Regions from separate parts of the Homo sapiens genome. Here region 1 is linked to region 2. The links are contacts of gene promoters, found by promoter capture Hi-C in blood cells and fetal thymus (Javierre and others, 2016). All regions are on one chromosome and are shown on one strand. The core of a region is centred on a gene start or on the middle of the fragment in contact, and the rest is flanking DNA. Distances in the headings are between cores, read along the strand shown.

Region 1 (5,853 bases), core at 3,138-5,637, 70 kb after region 2:
TATCATATGCTGATGAGCCAAAAGCAGAATGTCAAGATTTCACCTCAAATTTTTCCAAAAAGACTCCAGAAGAACATATAGAAATATCCACAATAAACAATCTTTGATCCAGACGTGCAAAGAAACATAAGTTATGAAGAAAAAAAGGAAGTGTTCAGAAAAAGGAGAGCTTCAGAACATATTTTATCTCATGAATCAAACTTTGAAACATGCTACTTCATATGAATATTTTACAAAGACATAAGCCTTGCTTTCGAAACTATTGAAAATACAAAGGCTAAAATGTAAACAAAAACCTTGTCACAGTGATTGCTAGAGGTTGCCACCCATCCTCAGAAGTTGAAGGATTTTGTTATCCTAGCACTTTGGGAGGCTGAGGCAGGCCCATCTCTTGAGCCCAGGAGTTTGAGACCAGCCTGGAAAATATGGCAAAACCCCTTCTCTACAAAAAATACAAAGATTAGCTGGGTGTGGTGGCATGCACCTATAGTCCCAGCCAGTTGGGAGGCTGGGGTGGAAGGATCGCTTGAGTCCAGAAGGTCGAGGCTGCAGTGAGACATGATTACAGCACTGCACTCCAGCCTGGGTGACAAAGTGAGAAGACCCTGTCTCAACAAAATAAAAAAAGAAAAGAAGTTGAAGGATTTTGAGATTCATCCAGACTATGATTTCTAGCTAGAGATCCTAGAAAACATTTGCCTGCTGTGCATTCTGCTGTGCACAGAAGGATTACAGACAATAATACTAAGTGTGCTGATATGGTGTCTGATGCCCCTTATATTTAGACGTTCAAAGACAACCAGATAGATATAAAACCAAATGATGCAAGTGCCCTTTTACCTTTTTGCTTACAACCAGCAATTCTGCTGCATTATGCAGTGTTGTAGTTACTTTCTGAAAACACAACTGAAAGGTGTGAACAAAACATTGCACGCTCATGATTCCTAAATCACTCATAGCCTCACCGTGTGCTTCCTGTTGTCTCTGACAACTACAGAATATATATTTTTATATTTTTTAGTATATATATATACACACACATATATATTTTTTCTTGAGACAGAGTCTTGCTTTTTCACCCAGGCTGGAGTGCAGTGGCACAATCTCAGCTCACTGCAACCTCCGCCTCCCGGGTTCAAGCGATTCTCCTGCCTCAGCCTCCCAAGTAGCTGCGACTGCAGGTGCGCACCACCATGCCTGGCTAATTTTTGTATTTTTAGTACAGATGGGGTTTCACCATGTTGGCCAGGCTCATCTCGAACGCCTGACCTCAGATGATCCATCTGCCCCGGCCTCCCAAAGTGCTGGGATTACAGGCGTGAGCCACCACGCCCGACCTATATATATATTTTTTAAGTTCAACAGCATAGTGGAATAACGCTGAATTCTACCATGCTTTGGCTTTACTTGGTTGTGAAGAGGTGTCCGGGTCTTATACAAAAACAACACAGTGAATGAAGGAAGAAATATTTATTGAATGGAAAATCAGCAAAGGAAAAAATTGTATAATTGTCAATGACAATGGGAAGCACATAGTGAAGCTATGAGTGATTTAGAAATCATGAGCATGCAGTGTTTTGTTCACACATTTCAGTTGTGTTTTCAGAAAGTAACTACAACATAGCATCATGTAGCAGAATTGCTGGTTGTAAGCAAAAAGGTAAAAGGGCACTTGCAGCATTTGGTTTTTAGCCAAAGGTAAACTATATGAGATACACAAAATAGTGGACCTGGCTTGATGCACATTCATCCAAAATGTTCCAGTGGCATAGGAAGCATGATGCTTTGGAACAGCCATTTGATCAAAAGAAAGTGTAATCATAAACTTTACAGAAAACAGTACTGGCATCATAGAACTTGCTAACAACCAAGAGTTGCTTGTGGAAAAATAGCTCATTTACGGGAACCAGCTGAAGAAGTCATCTTGAGAGTGCAAATATTTCCGACCCGATACTGCCGTCAAGATCCTCCTCCTCCAGAGGTGTGTGTGCAGTGGAAGCCAAGATGCAGATGGAATCTGAGATTTTTTTTTAAAAAGTATCTAATGCCAATCACATTGCTCCATGGCACATTATTAGATTCAAGGCTTCAGAACAAACTCTTCTCAAGTACTTCTATGGAATCCCATGTGCATGGAAAAATACTAGAAATTTAAAAATAAAAGTCAAGACAATAATCATAAGCCTTTGTCTTAGTTTGGGTTCCCCAGAAGGTGGAGGCTGAGATTGAGACAGTAGAGGTGAGGGACAGGGGAGTAAAGCAGGAAAGGAGAGAGGGCCAGAATGAGGATGCACATGCACCCAACCAGGGGAGCTGCTTGCTAGGCCTCTCAGGACTGCCTGACGAGCTGTGAGATGCTTCTTAGGATTATGAACCTAGGGGAAAAAAGAGATCCCTTTCCCCATCAGATCCGGTCACCCGTTGGTCAAAGCTTTGCCCCACTAGGCATGAGGTCCCCTGCATTTGCAGCTTGCACATGTGTGGGTGCTGAGTGTCAGTGGAGGAGCCCTGAGATAGGGATGAGAGGCATGGCCCAGGCCCAGGCCAGGCACATCCGGCTACAGCTGTGCAAGGCTGGCTGGAGCCCACAGCACAAGAGCCCAAGAGGATTGGAAGTGTTGCCTAAGAGGTGTCCAAATAGAGAGCTTCTGAACATACTCAGAAGACTTCTTTAAGTAGTGCACAAACAATGAAATTGTATTATCATTCATGATGGTATCTTTAATTCCAGGAGTTGAAGAGGAGAGATGCTTTTACCTTAGCTGATTGCCCAGAGAGATAAAGAAAGGAAAGCTGAAAATCTTGGTGACATCATCATGAGCACTCCCTCATACTGGCACAGTAAACACCAAACCCTGCCCTCCTACCGACCTCACTTGGAGGCCTCTGACTTGTATCTTACACTTGCCGCATAGTGACCACAGGAACGTGGAATGCTGACAGTGCTGAGAAGTGGTGGTTTCCTCACCTAGATATCAAACTTTAAAAATCAGAGCAGTCAATTTTAACAATACAGTTGCAATTATAATTACATTTTAAAATACAATTTCAGATTGTTCTTAAATCCCAACAATTTTTTCTATGATGGTGACAGTTTTGGCCTTAGCGTGGCCAGGTACTGATTTTTAGCTAACATTGGACCATTCAACATTTCCCAAAATGTGTAGTTGGTTGGCCTCTAGTTTAGTATTGCTCTAATAATCTGATAATATTCTAGCATCTATAATGGGAAGTGTTTTCTCTGTGTTTGGTTACTAAGGAGTGAATGGCCAAGTTTGTGTTTATGTCTTTCAATTGTCAGTGTCTGGTACACAGTAAGGAATTGTGTTTATAGTTTAATCATACTCTTCTATTCTTATTTTATTATATTTTTGCTCTTACTTCTTCACCTAATAACATCAAGTTTTTAAAAGTTATCAAGTTACAGGCCAGTTGAGGTGGCTCATGCCTTGTAGTCCTGCACTTTGGGAGGCCAAAGCAGGTGGATTACATGAGTCCTAGAGTTTGAGACCAGCCTGGGCAACATGGCAAAACCCTGTCTCTATAAAAAAATACAAAAATTAGCCAGACATGGTGGTGTGCGCCTGTAGTCCCAGCTACTTGGGAGTCTGAAGCAGGAGAATTGCTTGAGCCTGGGAGGTTGAGGCTGCAGTGAGCCATGATCATGACACTGCACTCCAGCCTGAGTGACAGAGCGAGACCCCGTCCAAAAAGAAAAAGTTATCAAGATGTAATAGTGCATAGTTAAGAAATTAGAAATAGCATTTCCTGCCCCATCCCCTCCCCACCCCTGCCCACTCCTATGAGGCAACCACTTTCAACTCTGTTGGCTGTTTCTCTGGTGCTGCCCTAAGTGTTAAGTAACATGCTTATATTGATTGCTACTTCATAATGTATCAATTTTAGACAGAATTTATTGATTTCCTGTTCTTGTAGGTGAGGATTTAGCTTACACTTCCTTCCCCTCCCAACATCCTCTCAATATGGTTTTTTGACAGTTTCTGGTTAAATGACTAGTCAGTGTTCATGTTATTATGACCACATAAGTATTATTCACTGTTGAGCTAATGTTTTATATTCTTGGAGTTAATAGTAGTTTCTTTTGATTTTTTCCATCTGCTTACTTTGTAAAAATACTTATCACCAATTTCCAAAATGCTCAAATTTGATCTGTCATGGGCCCAACAATAATTTTTTAAAATATTCGAAACCTACAAATTTCATGTCCTTTCTCAATACCAGTCTGGACAGGCTTCTGTGGAGGTCCTGGAGATTCCTTTGCCACTGTCCTGTGTTGAACTCATTTCTAAGATCCTAGGATCTCCTCTTTCTTGGTTACCTCTTCATTTTGCTAAAGCATATATTTTGTCTCTTCTTGAGAATGGGTAAATGGAAGGTAAATTGCAAAATCCTTCTGTGTCTAAAAATATCTATATTCAAGCCTCAGTGGATCTCATACGTTGGCTCTGTAGAGATTTCTGGGCTGAACATAATATTTTCTCAAAACTGTGATGCTGTTGCCCCACAGTCTTGTATCAGCCAATGTTGTCATTGAGAATCTGATGTCAAGTCCATTTCTATTCCTTTCTGTTACCTGTTTTTCCCCCTCTTAAAAGCTCTCAATATATTTATCCCTGTTGTTCTGAAAGTTCATAATGATGTGCTCGGAAGAGGGTCTGTGTCCATTTATCCTGGTGGGTACTTGGTACCCCCTTCATCTCACAGACCTGTGTACTTCCATTCTGGGAGTTTTTCCTGAATCACAACAGCAACAACAACAACTACTATTACTGCTACTACTGCTATTACTGCTGCTGCTACTACTACTACTGGGTATTCTACTTTGCGATGACACCCGTTTTTGCTATTCTTGAACTCCTTGAGTCAAATTTTGGATACAAGCCTGGACAGGAGCATGGCAGCAGCCCCTTGGAGGGCGAAGAAATGCTACATCCCTTTCAGCAAAAAAATAAGTCCTGGGTTGTTACTGGACTCCAGGGGACTCTGAGAGTTTGACTATGAGACACCAGCTTACCATGACACTCAGGTTGTTTATTATGAACTGACTGCCACCTGACCTACTTTGCCACAGAGAGACCCAATAACACTGCATCATAAAGGGGAAGTGGGATTATATAGGATGTAATCCACACAGGTTCGAAAGGCAGCATGGGCAGGTTATTCATGCCTATCCCATCCCTAGTCCCAACAACTGCCATCCTCTCCCTTCACCTGGACCTGTGGCCTCCCAGGAAGTTGGCTGCGATGATCTGTCTGAGGATGAAAACACTCATGCCTGTCTTATGGATAGAGGACTCTGCACTTTGCTTGCACCAACCTGAGGTAGATTGTGTTAGATTCAGCCCCTCTCAGGGGTAGCCCTAAAGGACAAGTGGAGAAGACACCTCCCAGGTGGCAGAAATCAAGGTGTTTATCATAGTGTCCTCTTTGCTTCGAAGGAGAGATCACCAAGGGTCAGAATCTACACATATTTCTAGAAAGTGTTTATTATATATGGTTAGATGTAAGGGAAGACAGAAGGAATTAAATGGAAAATTGTTATCAAGATTTGGAGGAGTATGTCAATGGATTTATTTGAATGAGACCCAAACCTAAAAATGTTCATATCTCATGTGAATTCTCACCAAAATGCCCCCCAGGATGGAAGAAACTTGGAAAATAGCACATGCTGGGTCACCCTTCCTATGGCAGCCAGATGATTTCTCAGAGGCTCATGAACAGCGTAAACAGTGGCACAGGGAAGGAGACCAGGCATGGACTCCACACACTGAGGCTATCTGCTTTCACTGGACCTCACCTCTTGCCTGAAGTTGGAGACTCTGATATTTTCTC
Region 2 (6,024 bases), core at 996-3,495:
TTAAGATTCCCCAGGCACCACACTTAGCTCTCACCTCTTTAATTTTTTGCCTCTTTATCCTTGCTACAAAGTTCTTCCTGAATTGTATTGTCTAAACTCATGGTTCCTACTCCCTTCTATGCTACTGTTTTCTAAAGCTCTGTCTTCAAGCTCCAGCTTTCCCCTAAGCCTTAGAGTTGAATTTCCCATTGCCTGATGCATATCTCCCCATGCATGTATTCACTGCATCAACACTTATTGAACACCTACTATGAACCATACTCAGTTTTAGGCACTGAAGTGAGCAAAGTGGGTATCATGCAGGGACCTCAAATTCAACCCACCCCAAATGGGGCACTGCTGAAAACTCCTTCCGATTGTGGATTCCTCCATTGCCTAAGAAGCAAAATTGGGCATTGCCCTGGGTTGCTTCTCCTTCTGAAAATTAGGAGCCAGTTTTTGGAGCCAAACAAACCTGGATTTGAATCCTTATAGGCAGTGTAATCTGGGGCCAATTACTCCTTCAAGTGCCGATTTCTTTATGCATAAAATATTAACTATGCTGAGTTGCTGTGAAGATCAATGGAGTAAGGACTTAGGACAGCATCTGACACAGAGAAATGCCCTGTATTATTATCATGTCATTTGAGTTCCACCTCATAGATGCCTCTCAGATTCATCCCCTCTGCACTGCTTTCAACTGTCACTTTCTTGCTTCACACACTCCTCACTCCTGGCTTTGTTGTAGTCTTTCCTTTGCTCATGGCTCATCTCAAGCCATGTTCCCTCTCAACCTATCTTCTCTTAAGTTGAAATTGAATAGTCACTCTTAGCTTAAAACCTCCAGTAGCCCTATGACTTATATGTGGTGGGCTTCAAAGATAATGTCCAGACTGCCCAGCACAACATCTTTTCTGAGTTTGCCTCTTTTCAGCCTCACCTCCAGTCCCTTCTCCAATCCCAAATCCTGTGCTTCAGTCACAGCCATCTTCTCTTCATTTTCCCTAAACTCACCATTTCCTTCATGCTTCAGTGGTTTTGCAGGTCCTTGCCCCTCTGCCCAAAATGATTGGTGAGCTTCTATTCACCCTTCAATACCTCCTGCTCAAATCCCCCTTCTCTGTGAAGCCTAATCTGTATCCTCTGTCATATTACTCTTATCACATAACACTGCATGCATCTAGATAAGCACTTATTATGTTATCTGCTACACACAGCATGTTCCTCAAGATCAAGGACTGGATTATGCTTCTATTTTCAGCTCTTATGATAGTACCTGGCTAAAGGAGGCACCAATAAATGTTCACTGAATGAGTACATAAAACTCTTTATAATAAGAACTATAAGCCCTAACATCATCAGGACTTGATTCTCAAGAATTTTTTTTCTGGCAGTGACTGTGAATTTCTTTTCCACCCACCTGTATACTTTATCCTTCCATTTCTCTTGCAATTGACACTTTTCACAAGTCTTGTATTTCATATCACTGAGCCAGATTCTTGAAATCTGGAGAAGCTAAATAAGACCTCTGATCAAAGTTGGAAAAAAATGCATCTGCCTAAAGAATCACAACTGTGGTCATTAATTGAGTGCTCCTGAAGCTCAGATGCTATGTTAAATGCTGTGCACACATTACTTAATTTCATTTTTACAACTGGCTAGCATGTAGCTTCTACTACAGTGAACAATGAGCAAGATGCCTGAAATGTGCTGTCCTAGGTGTCATTTCAAGTGTCAGAACATGTCACCCAGAACTGATAGAAATCTATCTTTCAGAAAATAAATTCCTTACTTCTGCCTCTGTGGATCTCCTGAGTTGAGGCAAGGGACACATTTTGGTTCAGAGCTTGGATGGTCCTATATTTAGACTAACAGTTCCAGCTCTTTAACGTCCTTGGGTGCTCAGAGGGGCAGAGTGAGCCCCTGGGTGTGTGGACTGGTGACTGAGCAGAGTGGCTGTCCTGGCCTCGCTTGCTGCCCACTCTCCCCCATCACCTGCTGCACGCTGCTCTTCCTCAGGGTTTCTCTAACATCTCCTGGTGCACATGCCATCCCCACCCCTGCCTCTCATCTTGATCATTCCCCCCAAGTGTGCAGGCTTTGCAGTTCCCCAGGGTGTACCCAGACCCGGCATTTCCAGCTTTGAGGTGCGTTGAGCCTATGAATCAGAAAGTAATGGAAAAAATGCCTACAACTCACCAGCTTGTGGCTTGTCTCAGGCAGTCCTGGTATGTCAGGCTTCTCAGCAACTGAACCAAACAGATCTAGAGGTAGAAACTTGGCATGCAGAAGTAGGAAATAAAGTTTCCTGCAGAAAGTGAAGGCGGAGATACAGGGCAACTAATGGTAAAGATTTGAAAAAAAAAATCAGAAAAATATAGTTCTTCTTTTCCAGTCAGGAACATTGTACATTGGGTTGAGGTCTCCAGAATAGGATTAATTTTGAAATCTTGCTTATGCAACCTTGAGTGTGAGTCAGGCAAACCCTGTACATCTGCTCCTGTTTCTAACGACTCTGAGCTTCTTTATCTTGTGGGTCTTTATACCTGGAACATTTCCACTCTCTGCTCTCCTACTAGTGATAATTTGCATGATATGAGCACAACAGAATGTTTCATGTTCCAGAGAATAAAGGGTATTGGTGATAGTGGAGGAAGTATAATGAGGTTTTACTGCGATCATGTGTGCTGGTTTCAGTGGTATCATGGATTCAGAATCTGGTTAGAAATTTCATTTAGATAAGACTTTAAAATTTTTTTTTATTTAATTCACATAATAATTGTATATATTTATGGGACACAATGTGATGTTTTGCTACATGTATACATTGTGCAATGATCAAATCAGGGTAATTACATATCCATCCTCTGAAACATTTATCATTTCTTTTGAAATAATAATGATATTGAAAACCCTCTCTTCTAGCTATTTATATATACAGAATTCATTATTAACTACCGTCACCCTACTTGGAGCAGAGCACCAGCACTTGTTTCTCCTATCTCATGGTAACTTTGTACCCGTTGATCAACTGCTGCCCATTCTCACCTCCTCTCTTTCCTCCCCAGTCTCTGGTAACCACTGCTCTACTGTCTTTTTCTAAGATAGCAACTTTTTTTTTTTTTTTAAATTGGGTTTCATTCTGTCACCCAGACCGGAGTGCACTGGCACAGTCTCAGCTCACTGCTACCTCCACCTTCTGAGTTCAAGCCATCCTCCCACCTCAGCCTCCTGAGTAGCTAGGATTACAGGTGTGTGCCATCATGCCCGGCTAAGCAACTTATTTAAAAAAAAATTCCACATAAGAGTGAGATCACGTGGTATTTGTCTATCTGTGTGTGGCTTATTTCACTTAACATCCTCTAGGTTCATCCACATTATCACAAATTACAGGATTTCAAACTTTTTAATGAAAAGGAAATGCTAAATTATCTCTTGTGTCAGGAACGTCCTTAGCAAGAAGAACCTCAGTTATTTTAAATGCCCCTCCTTGGAAAGACGTTTTGTTAAAAGATAATGTAAATTTTGCAATGGGGACATCAGACTAGGAGCATTCCTAAGATTGTGCAGAGAACATGGTGTCATCTAAGTTGGCCCCTGGCACTTTCTGGAATCCAGCAGACACCGGAGGCAGGATCTCATGCTGTGGACTTGGCAAGTTTCTAAGTTTCCATTTCCCAAATATGAAATATGAATAACAAGACTGGGGGTCTATGAGGGTAAATGGACCTAAAGCAGCTAGAGCAGGGTCTGGCAGGCACTCCACAGGTAACAAACAGAACAGAACAGTCTGAGCCCTGCAGAGTGCCAGAGGTTGAAGGATGCATCCACTGCTAGAGCCAACAACAATCAAATGCTCAGGGCAGTCCAGGTGTCCTTTCCAGATTTCAAGAAGTTGGCTTTTTTGCTGTTGTTGTTGTTGTTGTTGTTGTTGTGTTATGTTGTGTTTTTGCTTTCTTTTGCGACAAGATCTTGCTCTGTTGCCTAGGCTGGAGTGCGGTGGCATGATCATGCTTCACTGCAGTCTCAACCTCAAGCAATCCTCTCATCTCAGCCTCCCAAGTAGCTGAGACTACAGGTGCATGCCACCATGCCTGACTATTTTTTGTAGAGATGGGGTTTTGTCATGTTGCCCGGGCTGGTCTCGAACTCCTGGGCTCAGGCAATCTGCCTGCCTCAGCCTCCTGAAGGGCTGGGATTACAGGTGTGAGCTCCTACACCCAGCCCAGATTTCAGTCAGTTGTAACCATGTGTCCTGTGTAAGACCTGGTATATGTGCTAAGTAAGACCTGAGACTTGAAGGGTCTCAGGTTTTTTCTTGGAAGACAGCTCATTGCCTGTTCAGGAACATAGCAAGTTCCCCAGTTGTCTCTCAATGTGTCTCTGGGCCGGAATTGGAGCATATCTCTGAGATTTCAATAATAAGACAGGTCATCCCTGACCTGGTAACACTGAGCTTGCTGCCACTTCTGGAATCTCCTGACCCTGGCATCTTGCCACCTGTTCCTATGATTCAACCCAGGATGGGGAAGAGCAAGAGCCAGAAATTTTGCTCTGGCTGATTAGGACCGCTCTCCAATTTTGTCTTCACATTGTGATCTTTGTCTCCAGCCCTGTAATTTCATAAACAAGGAGAGGCACAGAGGTAGATAGTTGCAGAGCCAGGATTCAAACCTTTGGCTTATACTGACACAGAGGGCAGGATAACAGAGGGCACCCTCCGCTGAGATTTTGAAGAGACAGTATAGAATGAAAATATTTTTGGAGGGGTGAGCAGGCTTAAAAGAAGCAACAGGGATGGTGAGGTGGTCTGTCATCCCTATGCTTTGTGGGAGACCAGAATTTGACACCCTAAAATGTACCTCTTTTGCATAAGGATTGTTGAGCTGAAGGCAATTAAGAAGCAGATGAAGGAAAGCTCTTTTCCCTCCCTTTATTTGTCTAAAAGCAGGATATAGACTTACAAAGACAAAACGGATCTGCACCCCCCTCCACACCTTCTGCCAGGGTGAACAAAGGTTCACCACTGAAGACAAATTTAAATCCTTGTGGACCTGGAGATGGCACCAGAGGAATCTTCATTAACAAGTATTACTAACCAGCCTTTACCTCCATTTATTCCTTTTGCCTTCCTACAAGTCACTGTCCCTAGAGGCTCAAAGTTCATTTTCTTTGTCTTGTCATATCTCTAAAATGTTACTGAACTTTGTTGAAGATGCTATATGAGCTGGAATTCAAAGTCACCTTTTTAAGAATTATTCATTCCCTGGATAGCTCCTATGTACGTATAAAATATGTACGTTAATAAACTTTTCTCGTGTTAATCTGTCTTTTGTTACAGGGGTCCATTCCAAGAACTTATGAGCATTGAGGAAAAAATTATTTTTTTCTTCCTTAACAGCTAGAAGGATCAAAAGAATAAACAATACCACTTGAGTGCTACAGACAGCTGGAATTGAGAGCTGCAGGTTGATGGCTCAGCCACTGCTAGAAGTTCAGCAAAGCAGTAGGACAGCAGGGGCAGAAAGTATCCTAACCTCCTTCTCCCACTCTGACCTCCTACCAGTGCTTCCCAGTGACTGAACCAGATGGGAAGAGGGAATAATGGACAGTCTAGGCAATGTAGCCCCTAAAATCAGCATCCTGGGACTCAGAGTGGATCTGGGGGAGTGTGGCAAATAACCACACAACCGTCAAGTCAAACAAATTTTTTTCTTGCAACTTTCTTCTTACCTCGTCCATATATTAATAGATAGTTAGAAAATTGGGAATCTTGATCAGTACATCTTAGAATTCTTTATGCACACGGAGAGAGTTAAAAAGGATGTTTTTTCATGAGTTTGAGAATTCTGTATCTACCCATTGGCACTGGGTTCATGGTTTCTAAGGTTCCCAGTCTCAATGATGAGTATGGCCCTTCGAGCAGGCTTGAAGGAAAGTATGTCACAAGCCACTGAGCTCTGATGTGCCTGCTGACCAAGCAGGATTACATAGAAGGCAGGGCTGTGGTCACCTCAAGGTGACATGGGGCAAGGAAGAGGAGAA

Evidence for each region. The method cuts DNA at HindIII sites, captures the fragments that hold promoters and counts their contacts. A CHiCAGO score of 5 or more calls a contact.
Region 1: a contact is called between a fragment that was not itself captured here and the fragment with the promoter of CCR2 in region 2, in 1 of 17 cell types (monocytes). The highest score is 5.0, in monocytes.

Annotation. Positions count from the first base shown.
Region 1 is chr3:46,282,189-46,288,041 of GRCh38, reverse strand. No RefSeq gene overlaps it. Among named protein-coding and RNA genes, the nearest start is that of CCR3, 43 kb to the right of the region's middle. The HindIII fragment of the contact is 3,907 bases long and covers 2,434-5,853 here.
Region 2 is chr3:46,350,332-46,356,355 of GRCh38, reverse strand. It overlaps CCR2 (C-C motif chemokine receptor 2), which reads right to left and starts at 2,245. Exons shown (of 2, transcript NM_001123396.4): 1 at 2,179-2,245. RefSeq lists an enhancer at 5,979-6,024. The HindIII fragment of the contact is 10,451 bases long and covers 1-6,024 here.